7 separate regions of the Homo sapiens genome follow, and regions 1, 2, 3, 4, 5 and 6 are each linked to region 7. The links are contacts of gene promoters, found by promoter capture Hi-C in human tissues and cell types (Jung and others, 2019). All regions are on one chromosome and are shown on one strand. Each heading gives the region's core, a stretch centred on a gene start or on the middle of the fragment in contact. The rest is flanking DNA. Distances are from core to core; before and after follow the strand shown.

Region 1 (2,898 bases), core at 381-2,880, 790 kb after region 7:
GTGCAGCTGGAAGGGCTACAGAAACCCACCCAGTAGCCCTAGAAAGTGGCCTGGTCAGGGCCCCAGCCCCACTCAGCCCCATCCATCTCTCAAGTGGGCCCCCAGCCCACCCTCTCCATGAGGCAGGCCTGGGCGCCTCCACCCGACACCTGCCTCCAGTTCTTCTGGGCCCAGGCAGCTGCATCCTCAAACCAGGATGTGGAGGGTCACCCCTCTTGTATCCCCAGAGTGGCAAACCTGGCCAGCCACTGGCCATCTGTCCTCCCAGGGCTGCGTCTGCCCCCGTGTCCTCCAGAGGTACCCCCTTGAAATCCCCCTCCAGCCACTGCACACCCCACCTCCCACCTGTCCGTCATCCAATCAGCTGAGAGAGGGACCTTCCAGAGCCCCAGCTAGCACCTGGGGCCCAGCCCAGCACCCCCCTGGACAACTCTGAGCGTCCCACCTGCACTGCACAGAGGCCCTCCCCAGCCTCTGCCCCTGTGGCGCCCCCAAACTGGAACTGCCTCCAAATCCGCCTGTTCTCTCCACACCCACCTTCCAAGGCCTAGTGCAGTGCCACCCTCCACACAGCCCCTCCGACCCCTTCCGTTGGACTCAATCAACAGTTGCCTTCTCCTGGCCACTGCCCCCAACCACGACAAGCAAGGGCTGCTTGGCCTTGCAACCCCCAGGCACGTGACGGTTCAGGACTTGGTGGGCCGGAGCATCCCTTGCCCAAGGTTCTGAACTTGGGTTCCCGTCACCTGCAAGTCAGTGCCGGCGGCGCCCCTAAGCGCGCTCAGCCCACGCCGCGGTCCCTCTGGATGAGGACCGGCGCCTCTCCCCAGCTGCGCCCAGGCGCTTTCGGGGCCTCGGGGAGCTGGCGGAGGCCTCCTCCTGACCTCCCAGCAAGCCCTGCGCAGGAGAGGATGCGGCCGGCCGGCCCGAGCAGCCTCACCGAGCGGCAGCAGCGAGTGGCACAACAGCGTGGCGGCCGTGCGGCGCAAGTGGAAGGGCACGAAGGCGGCGTCCTCGCTGCCCAGCCAGCCCGACAGCAGGTTCTGCACCGTGAGCCCCGCCGCGTGGAACTCGTTGGGCGTGAACACGAAGCACACGGCGAACACCAGATAGGCGAGAGTGAAGGTCACCTCGGGGCTGTCCATCGCGCAGCCGCCGGGAAGCTGTCGAGCTAGGCCCCCGCCCCGGCGCGCGGACGAGGCCGCAGCGCCCAGTCCCGGACCTGTCGGTTGCGGCGGCCGCCGCCCGGCCGCCCGCGGGGCACTCTAGGACATGGAGTCCCGCCGCCCGGCCGCCCGCGGGGCACTCTAGGACATGGAGTCCCGCCGCCCGGCCGCCCGCGGGGCACTCTAGGACATGGAGTCCCGCCGCCCGGCCGCCCGCGGGGCACTCTAGGGCATGGAGTCCCGCCGCTCGGCCGCTCGCGGGGCGCTCTGGGAGATGCAGTCCCCGTGCGGGTGCGGCCTCTCTTCTCGGCCGGCCCTGGAGGCGGCACCGCACCTGTGCATTGAGCACAGGTGGGGAAACTTAGGCCTGAGCGAGGCCCTGGCCATGAAGCCCCGCCCAGTAGCGTCAGTTGCGGAACTCGAAATTCATGGGGCGACTGCGAGCCCGGGGTCTCAGCTTCAGACACCCTGGCGTGCCCTCCACTCCGGAAACGGAACCGTCGGCGCCCGAGCGGGGGGTGGGGGGGGAGGGAGGGCGGAGCCGGCGAGGCACAGCTTCCCATTGGACGCCCGCCCTCCTGCGGTCCTGCCCCCGGCCGCGCGCTGATTGGCCGCGCGAAGGCAACCGTCGGCGTTTGAAACTCCGGCGCGCCGGCGGCCATCAAGGGCTAGAAGCGCGACGGCGGTAGCAGCTAGGCTTGGCCCCCGGCGTGGAGCAGACGCGGACCCCTCCTTCCTGGCGGCGGCGGCGCGGGCTCAGAGCCCGGCAACGGGCGGGCGGGCAGGTAGGAGAGCGGCTACACGGCGCGGGGAGGCTGGGGTCCTGGGGGCGCGAGGCCGTCCCGCCCCGCCCCGCCCTCGGCCCTCGCCCTCCCGCCCCGGCCGCCGCTTTCCCCGGGAAGCGTCCCCCACGGCTCCTCCTGGGGCCGCCGCCAGAACCTGTACCGCGCCCTGTCATGGGACCCGGCCCTAGACCGACCGCCGGGCTGGGCCCCCTGGATGGTGGCCAGGGGCGGCTAGAGCTGGGCCAAGACCGACGGCGGAGCGGGCGCCCCGAGGTGCTTTGCTCTCCTCGACCCTCTCCTGTCTCTCGGTCGCCCACCTTGGCTCTTTGTTGGCTCCCAGCACGCGGACCCTCCTGTTGTTCTTTGGTCCCTTCCGGCCTCCGTCCTGGGGCCAACTCCATCTAGGCCGCCTGCGGCGGACACCTGGGCCCCTACCGCTTCCCCGCACCTGCTGCGCCGCTCCACCTTCCCCCCGCACCGCATCCCTCTTGTGCACCAGAGTAGCACCAAAGCACCAGCCTGGGGCCGGTCCCTTCTCTGCCCAGAGCCCCTCCCGGGCCTCCATAGTCAGTAAAGGCCCCTCCTGACTAAGGCTGGGTCTGCTGCTCTCCCGAGCTCCTCCAGGCCGCCAGAAGGCTTCCTCCGAGTCACTTTCTCCCTGAGTTCGAGGCTTGCGGGTCCCCCAGCGATCCAGCACCCCTTCCCCTGCCCTGTACCCAGTTATTCAGGGCGAAAACCTAAGCGTCGTCCGTAAGTCCCATATGTGCCAGTGGCCAGGCCCGGGTCTGGTCTGGCATCTACTCCTTGGGCTCCAGAAGCCTGTGGTTTCCCTGCTTCCCTTCTGCTCTTAACCTCCCCACCCACACACAGCACCACAGTGGGCTTCTCAAGCTGCAGCACCGACCTGCCGGGGCTGCCCCCTCTCTCTTCTCCAGGACCCTCCCCAA
Region 2 (3,156 bases), core at 446-2,945, 920 kb after region 7:
CAGAGCGAGACTCCATTTCAAAAAAAAAAAAAAAAAATTACAAGAATTGGGGGCCGGGCGCGGTGGCTCACGCCTGTAATCCCAGCACTTTGGGAGGCCGAGGTGGGTGGATCACCTGAGGTCAGGAGTTCGAGACCCGCCTGGCCAAGACGGAGAAAACAGTCTCTACTAAAAATACAAAAATTAGCCAGTCGTGATGGCGGGTGCCTATAATTCCAGCAACTCGGCAGGCTGAGGTAAGAGAATCACTTGAACCCAGGAGGTGGAGGTTGCAGTGAGCCAAGATCACACCACTGCACTCTAGCCTGAGCAACAGATTGAGACTCTGTCTTTAAAAACAAACAAACAAACAAACAAAAAAAAACAAGAATTGGGAGGATACATTCAGGGCAACTTCAATCTATCTCTTTGGGGGTGGGGAACAGAGACAAGAATATTGAAGCTGGGTGCCTGGGCATGGTGGCTCCTGTAATCCCAGCACTTTGGGAGGCCAAAGCAGGAGGATCAGTTGAGCCTTGGAGTTCAAGACCAGGCTGGGCAACATACCAAGACCCTGTCTCTACAAAAAAACTACAAAAAAAAAAATTAGCTGGGTGTTGTGTGGCACAACTAACAACTTGGGAGGCTGAGGCAGAAGGATAGCTTGAGCCCAGGAGTTTGAGGTGCAGTGAGTATGATCGCACCACTGCACTAATTATTTTACTTGAGTCCCTCTTAGCAAGTTTTATGTTTATTCCAATTTTACAAATAAGGACATAGACTCAAATAAGTTGGTTAATTAGAGAGAGAGAGGAGGTGGGCACACCCTGGGACAGCATTCACTCCAGACAGCACCTGAGGCTAGGGGGGCTAAAGCCACGCACCCTGAGGACCCTCAGCGGCTCCGGAGTCCCCGTGTTCCCCGGGTGCCGGTCGCGGCCTAATCACACCACAGGGGTTTGTAGGTGCTGGCATCACCTCATCAGTGACGGACCAGGAAGGCTCCTGCAGCCCAGCAGGTCCTGCTCGCCGGTGTCTGCCCTGCCCACCCAGTCTCGTCTCCGGGACCCCAAACGTGACCAAAGGGCACGGCCGTCCTCGTGCGTGGACACGTTCCACCAAGCTTACTCGCGCAGGGCGCGCCAGGGCTGCCCAGCCCTTCAGAATTTTCCCACTGTCTCTGAGGCAGTGACCCGGGGGACCCGGCCGCCTAAGGTCACAACACACGGCAGAGGCCCAGCGGCTCCGCCCGGCGCTGGCGGCCCAGCCCGCGACGAGACCCGGGGCCCCACGGTCCCGCAGGGGCTCCGGAGGCCGGGACCACCGGGCTCCCCGCATCGCCGTGACAACCAGCCCGAACCCGCGGGTCGTCCGCGCTCCCGACCCACCAGCCGGGAGCCGGCCCCGCCCTGGGGTGCCCGCCGCTTACCCCGCGGGACGGTGTACCGAGGCGGCGGCGGGAGGCGGGCGGGCGCCCGGCCGCGGCAGCTCCTCAGTAAGATGGACGCCATGTGCTCGGGCGCGGCGGCCGCTCCGGCCTCCTGCGCTGCCTCCTTCTCCGCGGCGGCCGCGGCTCTTCGCCGTCCCGGCGGCGCTTCAGACCCGGCCCGCGCGGACGGCTGACAGAGGCGGCTGGCCTCGGACGGGAGGCGCTCTCCTCAAGGACCCGGCACCAGCGGCGGCCTTGTCCCGGCACAGACGTCCGGAGGCGCGGGGCGGGGCGGCCAGGCCGCGGCTCCCATTGGGCCCCTCAGCGCCCGCCGCTGGCCAGGTGAGGGGCGGACCGCGCCACCGCGGACTACCGGTTCCGGCGTGCACCGGGACGGCCTGCACGCTGGGGTGCGGACTACCGATCCCGGCGTGCACCGGAGCGGCGGACTACCCTGAGGCGCGGACTACCGGTCCCGGCGTGCACCGGGGCGGCTGGCTCCTGGGGCTCGCTGCATCCTGGTTCCCGTCGTACCGTGGACGCCGGGGCTCGCAGCGTGGCGGCCGCAGGAGCTGAGGGAGTCGGCCGCGCTTGCGCGGGGAGTGTCTTTTCGTCTCCGGGCGGCGGCAGCAGCGCGTGTGTCCGGAACTTTTCTGGGACTAAGTCCTGCACCCACGAGTAGAAAACGGCTCCTGGGAGCTTGGGGCTCCAAGGGCAAGTCAGGGGACGCTGGGGATGGAGGGGCGCCCTCGACGCCCTCGGCCGCGGTCCCTCGCCGGCCCCCCTGCTCTGTGGCTCTGCCCTCGGCGGTCTGCACTCTGGCGCGCGCAGCTCTGAGTGCCTCTTCCCTGCGTACCGGGCGGCGCTCCCCAGATACGGCGCTGCTCGGCGTCGGGAGTCCCCGTCACCACTGGGGGGACGGGAGCGCAGGGTCCCGCCCCGAAGGACAGGGCCATGCCGGCCCCTGGAGGCGAGGGCACTAGGCCGGGTGGCGGCGCAGCCAGCATAGCGGCCCCCCATCCCGGCACACCGCGTCCTCCCGTCTGAGCGGGAGGGGTAGATATGGGTCCTGCGTTGGCGCGGGGGGACCCCTCGTTTCGCTCTGGCCTAAGCAGCCCCTGGGGTCCCGCGCGCCGCAAGAGCGCCAGACTTCCTAACCTGGGCCATACCCTGTCCGCTCCACTTCCCAGTCCAAGAAGGAACAGCCGAAGCCCAGGACGCCAAGGACCTGGCTCGAAGTCTCCAGAATTCCCGCCAGAGCTGGGCTGGGCTCGCGGACCGCTCATGCGCCGTCTCCCAGGAGCCTCCCCCCAGCCCAGTTTAATAGCCGGCCCTGACCAGTCCAGGGGAGAGAGACCGTGCAGCCTCCCAGCAGACCGTGACCTCTGAGCTCCACCTTCCCCTTCCTTCCCTAAGATGAGGATCCCTGAGTTGGGGCAGAGAAAGCAGGCAGGGAGAAAAATGGGGACCTGCGGCGCTGGGGGCCCAGCTGGTGGAGATCTCCAGCTAGGAGATCCCCAGCACAGCACTTGCCCTGCCCTCTGTCTTGTTCAGGGATGTAACCTGCCTCCTCCTGCTTCTCCGCGGCACCTCAGGGCACCGCCTGGGGAGGGTCTTGTAGTGCACACTCAGCATCTCTGTTCCCTGGAGCGCATGGGGTGTGAAACGCCTGATGCCAGCCAGCTCCCCAGTCTTGAGAGGCTGGTTGAATGGCACATCTCCCTAGGAGGCTCCCTCCCCAGGGTCCC
Region 3 (2,777 bases), core at 48-2,547, 590 kb before region 7:
AAGTGTAATAAACTATGTATGATACATGGTACTGTCAAGTCTTCTACTTGAGAGCTAATTATGGTGACTTTCTTTGTTTTGGCAGTCTCTTAGTAGACTGCCTGTAATGCACACCACATTTTGTTTAATTCTCTAACAACACATTTTCTTGCTGTTCTATTATTTTGGACAGTATTTTAGGATTGTAGATGATTTTGCTGTTATATTTTCCACACGCTGTCAAGAATTACTAGATGTTATACACAAAGTGCCCACCAGGCTTCGTTTTAGAGAAGAACCTTCTTTCTCAGGATTCCAGTCACAACCCACAGTTGTGCAGCAAAGTGCACGAAGTGCAGCAAAGTGCTCCCCAAAGCTGCAAACAAAATGATCTCTCTATTTGGGATCTACAATCCCTTCTATAGCAGTTTGACTAGATTTCTACAAAAATGACTTTTTAGGATAGCGATCAGTTTTTCCACCTCTTTCAGTGTGCCAATGATCTTCAGATCTGACACTGATTCAGAAATCATGGGGCCCATAAATCCAGCGAGGTTCACACATGTGCATTGATTAAACCTGAGAACTTCCATTCTCTCCCTTCTCCCCTTGCCCAAATGCCCACAAATGTGCTTACCAGCCCTCCAAGTCTTAAATGTGCAGTTCCAAATTCTGAGTTTATGTCCTGGGATTTGAGAGAAGAACAGAACTTTTGTTTGAGAAATACAAGTTCTTTTAATTACGAGACCAAGTGATGTGTTAAAATGAGACCACAGTCCTACCGTTCCCCTCTTTGAACTGTTTGTCTTTTGAAGTTGTTTGCTATTGCCACAAGTGGATATAAATTAACCTAATAATGCCATACTGGACACTATAACCCACACCTTATAGCTTAACAACGTACATAGCCAATCACTAACCAATGTTACTTCTATAAACCAATAAGAATTTCTGACAGCTTTCTATCAGTTCCGTCTGCCTTTCTTTTTGCCTTTAAAAATATACTTGTAACTGCTTCTAATTGGAGTGTATATTCAGGGCAGCTTTATAGTCCAGGGTTGCAATCTTCAAGCTTTGGCCCAAATAAACTCTCTTCTTATATTATGTTTACCCCACCTTTTTCCTTTTAGGTCAAAAAAACATTTTTCTTTTTTTTTTTTTTGAGACAGAATCTCGCTCTGTCGCCAGGCTGGGGTGCAGTGGTGCGATCTCGGCTCACTGCAACCTCCGCCTCCCAGGTTCAAGCAATTCTCCTGCCTCCGAGTAGCTGGGATTACAGGCGCACGCCACCATGCCCGGCGGATTTTTTATATTTTGTAGTAGAGATGGGGTTTCACCATATTGGCCAGGCTGGTCTTGAACTCCTGACCTTGTGATCCACCCGCCTCAGCCTCCCAAAGTGCTGAGATTACAGGCGTGAGCCACCGTGCCCAGCCTGTTTTGTGAGTTTTGATGCCATTATGTGAATGGCTATTCATTGACAGAAGAGAAGTTGTTATTATTTGTATTGTGTTTACCTTGCTAAGAATAAATATTTAGCTTCTAATATAATTGTTCTAGAGAAACATAAGGGTTTTGGTTAAATTCCTTGTTACTGTATGTTATACAAAAGACAGAGAAGTGGCTAAAATAGATTAAAATTTCACAAATTCTGGGAATCAAATTTCTCTTGGGCAGGCTTAGAAAAGACAAAACCGAAAGTACTTAGTGACATAGAGAGCAGAAGCCTAGGGCCCACTTTCTGTCCCATCCCTGCCCAGATCTACCCTCTTCTGATCCTTGTCCAGGTCTGAGCCAACACTGAAATCTCTCACAGAACTGATTAATAGAGGAGATCAGAGTTTAGGGTGGCTACTCCAGTCTCCTCTCCAGAGCTGGTGCCCACAATTTTCTGAAACCCAAAAGCCAATAAATAGGGAAAAGCTATATACTTTGGGGCCTTAAATCTTTTCTATAAAATTAAAACTAATGTTTCTAGAGACATCCCACCCAGCAACCTGTTCTCTATCCCTGCAGTTTCAGTGGCTTTTTCTTACAAGTCTCAAAGTAAATACAAACACAAAAATAAAAAAATTCCTCTGAATTGTACTTAACACTTTCTTTGGCTCTCTCCCATCTATTTATATTTAGCTATTATTCTATACATTTTTTTAAAAAGTCAGGGGAAACAGAAAGGAAATGGAAATTCTGGGCCCTGCCTTTAAATCTGGGAAGTATGGGACACCTAGTGTCTACCTCCCAGGATGTTATGAGAATTAACACACATAATATGAGCTTCCCATCACAGTGCTCTGTGACATACATCTGAGCACATATTACATGCCCCATAAAGATGGCATTAATGCAGATGCACATGTTGTTTTTCAGATACAGACTTACTCAGACATTGCCACCGTCTCCAACTTCTGTAACCTTATAGGGTCTGCAGAGAATGCCATGTTTGAAGATGATGATTGGTGGTCTTGGGATGAAAAGTATTTGTGTTGTGATAACGGTGTTGGGGTAAGGGACTCTGTGTGCTGTGTCTGCTTTCTCTAACTGAGTGGTACTATAATGGGTCTAGAGGGAGGAGCGTCAGCATTAACAGGAGACTTGCTGTAAAAAGCTAATTCATGGACCCTTTTCAAACCTGCAGAATTTTGTTACTTACAGTGAGGCCTACAATATCAAATAATGTATATGTACAATGAAGCTTGAGAGGCAGTGCTTAGCTAAGTGACTCTCAGCCCAGTCTTCCAGTAGGATCACATGGACAGTTTGAAGAGAAACCATCAGCTGTGTTCTGCCCACAGATCCTG
Region 4 (2,900 bases), core at 198-2,697, 770 kb before region 7:
TTTTTTTTTTTTGAGATGGAGTCTTGTTTTGTCGCCCAGGCTAGAGTGCAGTGGCGCGATCTTGGCTCACTGCAACCTCTGCCTCCTGGGTTCAAGCAATTCTTTTGCCTCAGCCTCCCGAGTAGCTGGGACTACAGGCATGTGCACCACACCTGGCTAATTTTTTTGTATTTTTAGTAGAGACAGGGTTTCACCATGTTGGCAAGGATGGTCTCGAACTCCTGACCTTGTGATCTGCCCACCTTGGCCTCCCAAAGTGTTGGGATTACAGGTCTGAGCCACTGTGCCTGGCCGAAGCTATTTTTCTTTCACCACTTTATATTACAATTCCATGACATCTGGAATTTTTTTTTTTTGACAGATTCACTGGTTATCTTATAAGACCACACTTATTTATAAATGACACATCACTTTTACCTTGTAACTCCTAAGATTCTCTTCTTGTCTTTGACTTTTGAAACTTTGCTTGTATGTGTCTTGTTATAAATCTCTATGTGTGTATCCTAGTTGAAGCTTGTGGAGCATCTTCAGTTTTTACATCCTTTTTTTACTTTTGAAAATGTCTCAGTCATTATTGTTGTATTTTTCACCTTCATGACTTGTTTTTTATATTTTTAATGTTTTCATTGATATTCTTATTTTTCTGATTTTATAAATTGTATATGTTTCTATTTCACTCATTGAGCATTATTCAGGTTAAACTTTTAAATTTTGAATATCTTCATTATTTATAGTTGTTTTCTGAAAATTTTCAAATTTTTTAATTGGGCCATGTTGCCCTAGTATTTTGCCTACATTGTAATATTGTTATTTGAACATGAACTAAAAGCTATTTGTCACAATCTTTACAATGTTGCCTTGTCCTCACATAGTCTGAAACCAGTTGTCTTTGATAGAGATTATGGGAGCCTCTCATACATGTTGTAAGGGTGTGTCTTGTCTAGAATTTTGTGTTTATTCTTCAGTTAAAAGAGTTTGTTCATGTTTCTTCTTATGGTTTCTAATCACTTGCTCTACCTGTTCCCTGTTTTTAGCACTGCTGTCTGCTCATGAAACATTTACCTTTGGTCTCAGCAGACTCACCACCATTTCTTTCAGCACCCTGTATTATTGGAGACAGAAACCAGCTTTTGTAATAATTTCCAAAAACCAGAAGTAGGAATGCGTGTGTCACTATTTTTCCTCTAAGAAGCCAGGTGTTGGCAGTTTACTCCTAAAGCACAATGCTATATTTGTGGGAAGGAAGAGCTGCAGTGGGTAAATGTAACATACTTTACTTCGTGTTTTATGTGGCTCTTGGAATTGTGCTTACCTGAGGCATTGCACATAATTAACTCATTTATAGATTTCACACAAAGGCATTTTGGTCAGTATATTTTTGTTATATATGTCTGTAAAGAAATTATGGCCTGTGGTATTTACTGAGCATCTTACTGATATACTTTGTATAATTTTATATATTAGATTTGTAATTGTATTAGATTTGTAAAGTATATTTATTTACTTATTTGTTTATTTATTTATTGAGATGGGGTCTCACACTGTCACCTTTTCTGGAGTGCAGTGGTGTGATCTTGGCTGATGGAAGCCTCTACCTCCCGGGTTCAAGGGATTCTCCTGCCTCAGCCTCCCAAGTAGCTGGGATTATAGGCATGCACCATCATTCCCAGCACATTTTTTTTGTATTTTTAGTACAGACAGTGTTTCACCATGTTGGCCAGGCTGGTCTCGAACTCCTTACCTCATTATTTGCCCACCTTGGCCTCGGAAACTGCTGGAATTACTGGCTTGAGCTATAGTGCCTGGCCTGTAAAGTATATTTATATGAATCTAGTAAGTGGGATAATTTGTTATTTTTATTTCTTTCAGCTGTGTGTTCTCATTTCACCCAAAACCTTTGGACAGTGCAGGGCATAGAAGATTCATTCCACAAACTTATACCAAAAGGACATGAGAAACGTGGACATGAGAATTTAAGAAAAACTTGTAAAAGTATAAATGAGTGTAAGGTGCAGAAAGGTGGTTATAATAGAATTAACCAATGCTTATTAACTACCCAGAAAAAAACAATTCAATCTAATATATGTGTCAAAGTTTTTCATAAATTTTCAAATTCAAACAAAGATAAGATAAGATATACTGGAGATAAAACCTTTAAATGTAAAGAATGTGGCAAATCATTTCACGTGCTCTCACGCCTAACTCAACACAAAAGAATTCATACTGGAGAGAACCCCTACACATGTGAAGAATGTGGCAAAGCCTTTAATTGGTCCTCAATTCTTACTAAACATAAGAGAATTCATGCCAGAGAGAAATTCTACAAGTGTGAAGAATGTGGTAAAGGCTTTACTCGGTCCTCACACCTTACTAAACATAAGAGAATTCATACTGGAGAGAAACCCTACATATGTGAAAAATGTGGTAAAGCTTTTAACCAATCCTCAACCCTTAATTTACATAAGAGAATTCATTCTGCACAAAAATACTACAAATGTGAAGAATGTGGTAAAGCCTTTAAGTGGTCCTCATCCCTTAATGAACATAAGAGAATTCATGCTGGAGAGAAACCCTTCTCATGCGAAGAATGTGGCAATGTCTTTACCACATCCTCAGACTTTGCTAAACATAAGAGAATTCATACAGGAGAGAAACCCTACAAATGTGAAGAATGTGGAAAATCCTTTAATAGGTCCACAACTCTTACGACACATAAGAGAATCCATACTGGAGAGAAACCCTACACATGTGAAGAATGTGGAAAAGCCTTTAATTGGTCCTCAACCCTTAATGTACACAAGAGAATTCACTCTGGAAAAAATCCCTACAAATGTGAAGATTGTGGCAAAGCCTTTAAAGTGTTTGCAAACCTGCATAATCATAAGAAAATTCATACTGGA
Region 5 (3,012 bases), core at 467-2,966, 690 kb before region 7:
CTTGTGCACAGCATATTGTTGACTTTTTAAATCTATTCAGACATTTTGTGAATGTTTCCTTTTTTTTTTTTTTTTTTTTGCTTCAATAACAGAATATCCCAGAGTTCGTAATTCATAAAGAATAGAATTTACTTAGCTCAGACTCCTGGATGCCAAGAAGTCCAAGAGCATGTCATTCCCATCTGATGAGAATCACATTTCCACATCACAACATGACCAAAGGGTTGAGGATGACAGAAGGTGTACACCAGTGCTCACTTTTATAATAGACCCACTCTCATGATGACTAATACACTGTGGTAATACTGATACTAATCCTTTCATGACAGTAGAGTGCTCATGACCTAATAACTCTTAAGGGCCTCATTTCTTAATTTTCTCACAATGTCAGTTAAATTTTAACATGAATTTTGGAGGGGACGCTCAAACTATAGCAATGTGTTTTTATTGGATAACTAAATCTTTATATATTTAAATGAATTACTGATTGATAAGAACTTACTGCCATTTTCTTACTGTTTTCTGACCATTTAGTAGTTTGTTTTTTCATTGTTTCATGCTGTCTTCCCCTGTATTTTCTTGAATTTTTGTTGTTTTTGTTGTTATATGCATTCTTTTTCTTTTGTGTGTAACCACTACAGTTTTTTTTGTAATTTCCAGGAAGCTTATGTAAAACATCTCATAGTTATAAAATCTAATTTCAGATAAGAATTTAGCTTTTGGTTTGTATAGATAGGGTCTTGCTTTGTTACCCAGTGTAGTGCAGTGGTACATTCATAGCTCAGTGCAGACTTGACCTCCCCAGGCTCAAGCAATCCTCAGCCTCCCAAGTAGCTGGGACTACAAGCACATGCCACCATGTCTGGCTAATTTTTTTAGTATTTTTTGTAGAGACAGGGTTTTGCCAAGTTGCTCAGGCTGGTGTTGAACTCCCGGGCTCAAGCAGTCCACCTGCCTTGGACTCCCAAAGTGCTAGTATTACAGGCATGAGCCATCAGGCCCAGCTGCTTCTTTTTTTAAAAGACTAAATAGCTTTCTGAGATCTTTATTTAATTTTATTTATGTACTTATTTAAGAGACAGGGTCCTGCTATATTGACCAGACTAGTTTTGAACTCCTGGCCTCAAGCAAAAGTTAGCTTCTATGTATAGAAAAATTAAACAATTTTACTCCCTTCAACATAGTATTTATGTCACACTCTACATCTTTTTATATCGTATACCCTTTAACAAATTATTGAAGCTATATGTAGTCTTAATAATTTTTTCTTGTAGCTTTTATACCAGAGTTAAATGTGATTAATTCATTCACCATAATTAGTTTTATAGCCTTCTAAATTCGACTATGTATATATGATTTTCAGTAAGATTTATAATTTTGTTGTAAGTTTGGATTCCATTACAACTTAAATTCTCATTAGCATTTGTTGTAAGTCAGGTCTAGTGATTAAAACTTTCAACTTTTTTTTAATCTGAGAAGATTTTGATACTTCATTTCTAAAGAACAGCTCTGTCAGGTATCGTCTTCTTAGTTGTCAAGGTTTTTTCTTTTTCTTCCTTCATTTGCATTTTAAATATATGGTTTCACTCCTGTGTGGCTTGCATGGTTTTTGCTGGGCAATCTGCTGATAACCTTATAGGAGTTCCCTTGAATGTGAAGAATCTCTTTTCTCTTGCTTTTTTTTTTTTTTTTTTACTTTTTACTCTTTATTTTAGGTTTTGCAGGCAAACCCCAGGTAAAGGGTTTTCTTTTTTTAATTTTAATTTTTGTGAGTATGTAGGACATGTATATATTTGTGTGGCACATGAGATGTCTTGATCCAGGCATGTAATGTGTAACAATCACATAATCAAAAATGGGGTATATCCATCCCCTCAAGCATTTATAATTTGGGTTATAAACAATCCAATTATGCTCTTTTAGTTATTTTAAAATGTGCAACTAAATTATTATACTCATACTGGGTATTACTCATTCTTTCTTTTTTTTTTCTTTTTTGTTTGTCTTTGAATTTTGGCAGTTTAATTATAATGTGTTCTGGACAATTTCTGTTAGATTCTTCTTGCTATAGACATTTTGAGCTTTTAAATTTAATATCTATATTCCTTCCAAGATTGGGAAGAATTTAAGACATTATATCTTTAAACAATTTAAAAATTTTTTTCTTTCTCATGAACCTCCTAAAATTGTACATCCTTACCATTGATTATGAAATATGGGGGACAAATGCTTTATTCACTCGCATTCTTTTTTTAAATTCTAACTAGGAACTTTCAAATAACTTTTACATTTGCTGATTTTTTTTTTCCTGTATAACGGAGTCTCCTGTTAAAGCTTTCTCTTAAATATTTTAGATCTCCTATTGTGTACTTCAGCTCCAGCATATCTAACTGGTTCTGTTTTAATGGTTTCTCTTTATTATAATTGTGATTCTGTTCATACGTTGTTGCAAAAAAAATTTAGTAATGTGTGGTTTTTTTGCATCTCATTGAGATTCTTTAAGATAATTATTTTGAATTCTTAGCCATTTTTTAGATCTGTGTTTTACTGTAAGTGGTTACTAGAGAATTTTTAGTTTCTTTTGGTGGTGTTACATTTGCCTGATCTTTCATGGTCTGTGATGCCTTGTTTTTATGTCCTTGCATCTGAAGGAGTAAATATCTCTTGCAGTCATTATAGATTAGTTTGGGGTGGTAAATATTTTCTCCTATTGGATCTCTGTGCTGATGAGATTTCCAGTGAGTTTGCAGTAAGGTGCATTGGATCTGGATCACAGTGAAGTTCATGCTTGGCAGACCTGTTATTAGGGCATCAGACTGTTGTGGATTCTGTCTATTTTCTAGGAAGACTGAACTTTCTTCAGGATCTTGATCAGTAAGACTGGTGCTGAGAAAAAAAAGTCTCCAGTTGTATATGCAGATGACAGAGCTGATATAATCCATGTGAGCAGGTATGGCTTCTGCTGTGTGGCTCTTGCTGGGTTTTTAGAAATCTTCTAACCCAGTCATTGGA
Region 6 (2,924 bases), core at 243-2,742, 770 kb after region 7:
AAGACTCCATCTCAAAAAAATAAGTAAGTAAATAAAAGCCGTAGCTTTCCATCACAAAGGGTATAATCAACAGAGCAGCCCAAACAGTGCTGTTTTCCAAAACAGGACAATTTTCAGGCACAGACCCATGAGATATCTGAAGAACAAATAGGGTCCACTCACAGGACAATCTGGACAGGTGGAATACGCATGAATAAGAGCTGCAGATAACCCCTGGCAAGGGGTGACTTGAGGGAGCAACTAGGCTATCGGTATGCAAGAACTGTTCTAAGACTTGTGCATGCAACACAAACTATACAAGTCAAGTCAAACATTCTAATTTTATAATTGAGGAAGTCAAGACCTATATAAATGCAATAATTCACTAAAAACACTGGTACTCTCATCTGTGAACTCCTAGTTCATTTCTTCTACCAAGGCATACATCCACCCACACATTTTGATACCAGAAGAAATGACAAATAACTCCCCCAAATGTTCAATAACCAATTCCCACATATTCCCGTCCCTTTTCAAAGGAGGCTGATATAAATACCATCACTGGCTGCCAAAATGAAAACAGGTAGTCTAGGTATCGTTCCGCGGCTGACACGCAAGACACATTTTTCTTGAGACCCTGTTTATCAGCCACTTGTTGGCTAAAATTATCTTGTAAAATACTTCAACCAATTATGAGCCACATTTTAACTGGGTTTGAATAAACCCAGTCCTTGCAACTGGGTTTGAGTTAGACAACTCATCAAAAGAGAAAGGATCAACACACTGATAATCAAGGGAGATTAAACATGGTTAAGGATGCATTAGGTAATGAGTCAACGAAGACGAAGTAGCTTAGTTTGCAAGAACTTGGATACACACAACAATCTTGTGTGCAACTGCAAGAGGTTCACAGAATCCAAGTTTGAGACCTTTCCTTGTATGTTGGCATTTCTGAGCTGTTTGTTGCCTAAGCCAAGTGTCAATGTATTCCTTCATCTGGAGAGAGCACTCCATCTACTGTGCTGGGTTGTGTGAGCACCGCACACAGAAGGTCGGTGGTAACAAATGACTATAGTAAGTTCCTGATAGTTAGGCCGGGCACAGTGACTCATGCCTGTAATCCCAGCACTTTGGGAGGCCGAGGTGGGCGGATCAGGAGTTCAAGACCAGCCTGACAAACATAGTGAAACCCCATCTCTACAAAAAATACAAAAATTAGCCAGGCGTGGTGGCCTGTGCCTGTAATCTCAGCTACTCAGGAGGCTGAGGCAAGAGAATCGCTTGAACCCGGGAGGCAGAGGTTGCAGTGAGCCGAGATCTTGTCACTGTACTCCAGCCCGGGCAACAGAGCGAGACTGTCTCAAAAAAAAAAAAAAAAAAAGAAAGTTAGTTCTGATAGTCCTCCAGCCTGCAATCCAGCAGTAACACCATTGTGCACCTACTTCCACTCTTGGAAGGATTACCACCAAGAGGACAGTGGTCTTCAAGCTTGAAAGAGTGGACCCGCCTGGAGGGCTTTTCACAGGATGGCCAGGCCCCACCCCATTCGCAGGCCCAGGGAAGGGTCTGAGAATCTGTATTTCTAACAAGTTCCCAGGAAATGTTGATGCCTTTGGTCTGGAGCCCAGACCTTTGAAAACCACTGTTCTAAGACAAATATCAAATTTAATGTGTTACTGAAAACGCCACAGATTAACACTTCAAGGTGGTCCAAAATGTGTACCTTGCCATTTCTTTGTTAACTCTGGTCCTCATTTCATCTTCTTCAACTGCACTTGCCCAGTCAGAGCATCTGGAACGGGGTTTAGGGCCTTCAGGAGTGGTAAAGCTGCAATAAAAGGAAAATGCTACTGAACCATGACACATACTTTGTTTTCTTTCAAACTGTATGTCAAGAAATATTCAAAGGCTGGTGGGACACAGTGGCTTGTGCCTGTAATACCAGCACTTTGGAAACTGAGGTAGGAGGATCACTTGAACCCAGGAGTTCAAGACCAGCATGGGCAAGATAGTGAGACCTCATCTCTGTCCCCCACCCAAAAAAATAAAAGCATTATATCAGTGAACTATGTGTATCAAACCATACTAAACTGGAGTTTAGCAGGACAAAAGCAAACTAGATGTAGAACATAACCTATCAGCTGCATCTGTCTATCCAGGGCTGTCTTACTAGAGCAGAAGTCATGGAGCTCCTTGGCAGTGTGCCCACTGTGTTTGGGGGTCTAATAAAACCAACTAGATTTTAGACTTCAAACTAAATTATGATTCCTTTTGGGTGTCCACACTTCAGTAGTCCAGGGCTATCATATGGCTGAAATCAACTTATTTCGTTCATCTCTGGTATGTGTTTATAAAGTCATTAAGATGGGAGATTTGCTTCAAATTTTTGCAGTGTGTGTGGCAGTCAGAAAAACCCATATCTAGTTTTCAGCTTCAGTTCTGGCATTTCTATGGGTTAACCTTATCTCATTGATCCAACATCCGGCCTGATGCTGGAGCTTATGAAGTTGACTCTAAGAAGTTCAGAGAGTGTAGAGTTTCCCATCTTGTATTTAATTTGTCTCTATGCCATTAGTCCCAGCTTGAAGTCATTACCAATGTCAATGTTGACAGGATTGTGACAATATTGCCTTTCATAAAACCGACCACCAAAGAATTCCATTATTCTAACAAAGCCCGAGTTTCACAGATCGCGGGCACATCTAGACAGATGTGTGCATGCTTGACGGTGCAGAGCAACTACTCACTTCCAGCAACCTCGTGCTTCCCCTGGCTGGCCATACAGAGGGATTCGCTGTCATACTGAGAAGGCTCTGCAAGGTAAGTCTCTAATTGAGGCTATCTCAGGTGGGTGTTTCCGCTGTGTAGTCCCAAGCCTGTATCCATATAATAAAAGTGCAGGTCTGGCATTCCTCCAGGTTATCTGGCCAGTGTAGACTCCTCCA
Region 7 (3,141 bases), core at 9-2,508:
TAAACTTCACAGCCAGTGAAATATGACACACCTCCAGGCACCACTGGACAAAAAATGTAAGGAAAATCCACAAGAGAGAATGGGACCCACTGGCACTGGTGATCGATTCCGTGTGAACGGAGAGGACATCCAGGGAGCTAGAAATAGCATGCAGAGACAAAACTGACTCAAGACTGACTCAAGAGGACTTAAGCCGAGTGACCTGTCCACTCTGCAAGTTCTATATAGGTCACAACCACTGGCTCTGCTTCCTGTACTACACACGGAATCACACGAGTAGATGTTCACCGGGAAGAGAAACACTGAGGTGTTGAAAGACGAAGGGGGATCACGAGACACAGCCCAGTCTACCCTCGGCCAACCCCCCCACCCCCCAGGCTACAACCGCAACTACCTGCAACACGTGTGCACCCACCAACTCTCAAGTTCCCTGGACTGTAGAAGAACCAGCCCTAACCTCCAAAGTCCAGTCCTGTCCCTGCCTGCTCAATAACCCCAGATGTCCGGCAAAAGGCCAAGGCTTAAACCCACCTCCTGCACCGCTCACCTCCTGACTCCAGCTGTCGGCCTTCTAGGCACCGTCCCTCAGTCTCCGCTGTGGGTCCCCACCCAAGCTCCCTGCCTGCCACCATCCCCCACCTCACCGTAACATCTTCCCCCACCCACCCTGAGGGGGTTCCCCAAGCCCCAGGCCTTGCTCCGACTTGACCCTACTCTTATGACAAGAAAGTACCCCGACCCGGTCCCAGCCTCGCCCTCCGCAATCACCGCCAGCAGGCACTCACCTACGCCCGCGCTATGACCTTCGCCTGGCCCTGACCCACGCCCTCGGCAGAGACCCTCCCCTGGCCGACCCTGACCCACGATCCCGCTGGGACCCTCCCCAGCCCTAACCCACGCCCTTCCACTCCGGGCTGACGCTGCCCCCAGCGTCCCGGAGACAACACTCCGCGGCCGCACCCGCGCTGCCGACCCGGGGCCTCACCTTCGGCCAGGACCCGCCGCACCCGCAGCCGCAGCTCGCCCAGTTCCACCGTCTGCCCCACGAAGTCACTCTGGTCGCGGCCGGAAGCACCGCCCAGGGAGCCTGGACCCGCCAAGAAGTCGAGCGCCGACTGCAGCAGCGACATGGCGGTGGCTGCGCCGCACCCCGCGGCAGCCGGAGTGGTCGGGCTCGGGCTCCCGCTCCCTCGCCGTCCGGGTCAGCTCAGCAACCGCCGGCCCGGAGGTGCACCATCTTCCGCCTCGACGCCGTGACGTAGGCGCCCGTGAGGACGCGTCGCGTCAGGCGGCGACCCGGCCTAGCCCCGTCCCCTCCGCCGCGGCCTCACTTCCTGGCTGCGCGCGCAGGCGCGGAGGTCTGACGGAGACAGCGCGTGCGCGGCGTCGCCGGGCTTGCGATGAACTTCCGGCTGTCAAGCTCCCGGCCGGGCTGACTCAAGCGGAGGCGCGCGGAACAGTCGCCGAGGCGATTCCCGCCCAGGTAGTTCAGCGCCCCAGTCCAGCTCCCGGTACCGTTCCCCACATGGTCTGTTTTGTGGGAGGCTCCTTCTCAGGTGTCTCCGGTTTAAGCGCTTCGCCATCCTCTGGGTGGAGTCAGCCTCCCGTTTGCTGTTAGCGCCGCGTTTGCGAATGGGTTCGCGAATTTTTCTCTCAGTTGGCTAAGGAGCAAGGAGTTAGCGTGCGTTAAGCTTTCAGTAAATACTTGGTTTTCGTCTCATGGAGGTCGGAGTTTCCTGTGACGCTTAGTGAGTAAGGTTGGCAGCCCCCTCCCAGCAGCCAGGCAGGCAGTTTGCAGGGGAAACGCTGCTGCATTGCTCTGTCTTCCGAGGAGAGGGCCAGGGTCTGGCCTGGGGCAGTGACCAGTAGTGGGAGCCGTGGGCTAGAAAAACCTTCGTCCTGGGCAACCACAACACTGCAGAGACTGCCCTGTGACCCTCAAGGTTCGTTCTCACCCTGACATTTTCCAAGGCAAAAGCAAATCCTCATGAACCACTTGGAAGGGTTCGTAATGCCCAACTATTTGGAGATGAAATGGTGACTTTCCTTATAGGATAATAAGGAAATGGCTCACAGACAATGCATTTTTAGTTTTTGGCCCACACAGTATTTGGGGGTTGGGAGTGGGTAGCAGGAGGTGAATTAGTTGCTATCATTTAAAGACTGATGCCAGGCGCGGTGGCTTACACCTGTAATCCCAGTGCTTTGGGAGGCCGAGGCAGGCGGATCACCTGAGGTCAGGAGTTCCAGACCAGCCTGGTCAACATGGTGAAACCCCGTCTCTACTAAAAATACAAAAATTAGCCGAGCGTGGTGGCGGGTGCCTGTAATCCCAGCTACTCGGGAGGCTGAGGCAGGAGAATCGCTTGAACCCGGGAGGCGGGCGCCACTGTACCCTAGCCTGAGACTCCGCCTCAAAAAATAAATAATAATAATAATAATAATTGAAAGGCCTAAATGTTAAAAACCTAGTTTTCCAGCTTCTGTGGAAAAATCAAACCTGTCAATATTGGACCCAAAATGATGTGTGTTACCAATTACCTAGAGTGGTCCCTTGAGGTAAGACACAGTCATTTGCCTGACCAGATGGGCTCATGTATGTTACCTGCCTGGTTCCTATAGTCATTTAAGGTTGCAACCCCTTCAACAGAGTTATTTGTTCTCCAACTCAAAAATGGATTCTAAAGCTCACATCAGCCTCTTAGCCGTCCCAGAAGCTAACATCTGTTATCTTTATCATTAAAAGATAATAGCCTCAGCTCGTTGGAACACTTATCTATGTTATGGAATGAAGTATTGCATGAAGCCAAATGACATCTTTAAAAATATATATAACAAAAATAACAGTAGCAATAGCTTAGTTTAGGCACTGATTTATTGCTTACAACACCCTTTTCTGTAATAGTTCATTGTAGTGAAAACATCTTTGTGAAGAAAGCACAGTATAATTAACCCCCTTTATTTTGGGATGAGAAAATATGCTCAACAATGCCATTATTCGGCCAGGGCCAACAAGTGATACAACTGCAATTCAACGCAAGTCATGGCTTTTCCAGCCAGTGCGTTTGTCTGGTCGACTGTGGAATAGAAGGATAGAGAGCTCAGGAAAGAATCCCTGCTAGAGACAGATATCTGGGCATC

Evidence for each region. Contacts are between HindIII fragments. The study calls those that stand out against the background at their distance.
Region 1: a contact is called between the fragment with the promoter of TMEM129 here and the fragment with the promoter of GAK in region 7, in 1 of the 25 tissues and cell types used here (spleen).
Region 2: the fragment with the promoter of LETM1 here is called in contact with the fragment with the promoter of GAK in region 7 in 1 of the 25 tissues and cell types used here (dorsolateral prefrontal cortex).
Region 3: a contact is called between a fragment that was not itself captured here and the fragment with the promoter of GAK in region 7, in 1 of the 25 tissues and cell types used here (lymphoblastoid cells).
Region 4: a contact is called between a fragment that was not itself captured here and the fragment with the promoter of GAK in region 7, in 2 of the 25 tissues and cell types used here (dorsolateral prefrontal cortex and lymphoblastoid cells).
Region 5: a fragment that was not itself captured here is called in contact with the fragment with the promoter of GAK in region 7 in 1 of the 25 tissues and cell types used here (lymphoblastoid cells).
Region 6: a fragment that was not itself captured here is called in contact with the fragment with the promoter of GAK in region 7 in 2 of the 25 tissues and cell types used here (dorsolateral prefrontal cortex and spleen).

The regions. Positions count from the first base shown.
Region 1 is chr4:1,719,693-1,722,590 of GRCh38, forward strand. It overlaps TMEM129 (transmembrane protein 129, E3 ubiquitin ligase), which reads right to left and starts at 1,631. Exons shown (of 4, transcript NM_001127266.2): 1 at 941-1,631. The coding sequence starts at 1,145. It overlaps TACC3 (transforming acidic coiled-coil containing protein 3), which reads left to right and starts at 1,829. Exons shown (of 16, transcript NM_006342.3): 1 at 1,829-1,951. RefSeq lists enhancers at 482-581, 1,664-2,659 and silencers at 1,172-1,221, 1,232-2,041. The HindIII fragment of the contact is 14,879 bases long and covers 1-2,898 here.
Region 2 is chr4:1,854,461-1,857,616 of GRCh38, forward strand. It overlaps LETM1 (leucine zipper and EF-hand containing transmembrane protein 1), which reads right to left and starts at 1,696. Exons shown (of 14, transcript NM_012318.3): 1 at 1,409-1,696. The coding sequence starts at 1,490. RefSeq lists silencers at 162-338, 1,133-1,322, 1,333-1,892, 2,293-2,512 and enhancers at 904-1,405, 2,043-2,112, 2,782-3,156. The HindIII fragment of the contact is 14,961 bases long and covers 1-3,156 here.
Region 3 is chr4:339,946-342,722 of GRCh38, forward strand. All of the region lies in intron 1 of ZNF141 (zinc finger protein 141), which reads left to right. Among named protein-coding and RNA genes, the nearest start is that of ZNF141, 3.5 kb to the left of the region's middle. The HindIII fragment of the contact is 3,033 bases long and covers 1-2,777 here.
Region 4 is chr4:159,043-161,942 of GRCh38, forward strand. ZNF718 (zinc finger protein 718) reads left to right here. Exons shown (of 4, transcript NM_001039127.6): 4 at 1,870-2,900. Among named protein-coding and RNA genes, the nearest start is that of ZNF718, 36 kb to the left of the region's middle. The HindIII fragment of the contact is 3,300 bases long and covers 1-2,900 here.
Region 5 is chr4:235,957-238,968 of GRCh38, forward strand. It overlaps the pseudogene ZNF876P. Among named protein-coding and RNA genes, the nearest start is that of ZNF732, 68 kb to the right of the region's middle. The HindIII fragment of the contact is 5,262 bases long and covers 1-3,012 here.
Region 6 is chr4:1,701,894-1,704,817 of GRCh38, forward strand. SLBP (stem-loop histone mRNA binding protein) reads right to left here. Exons shown (of 8, transcript NM_006527.4): 3 at 1,703-1,807. Among named protein-coding and RNA genes, the nearest start is that of SLBP, 9.0 kb to the right of the region's middle. The HindIII fragment of the contact is 4,119 bases long and covers 1-2,924 here.
Region 7 is chr4:931,058-934,198 of GRCh38, forward strand. It overlaps GAK (cyclin G associated kinase), which reads right to left and starts at 1,259. Exons shown (of 28, transcript NM_005255.4): 1 at 986-1,259. The coding sequence starts at 1,130. It overlaps TMEM175 (transmembrane protein 175), which reads left to right and starts at 1,403. Exons shown (of 11, transcript NM_032326.4): 1 at 1,403-1,483. RefSeq lists a silencer at 1,045-1,364 and an enhancer at 1,525-1,844. The HindIII fragment of the contact is 8,506 bases long and covers 1-3,141 here.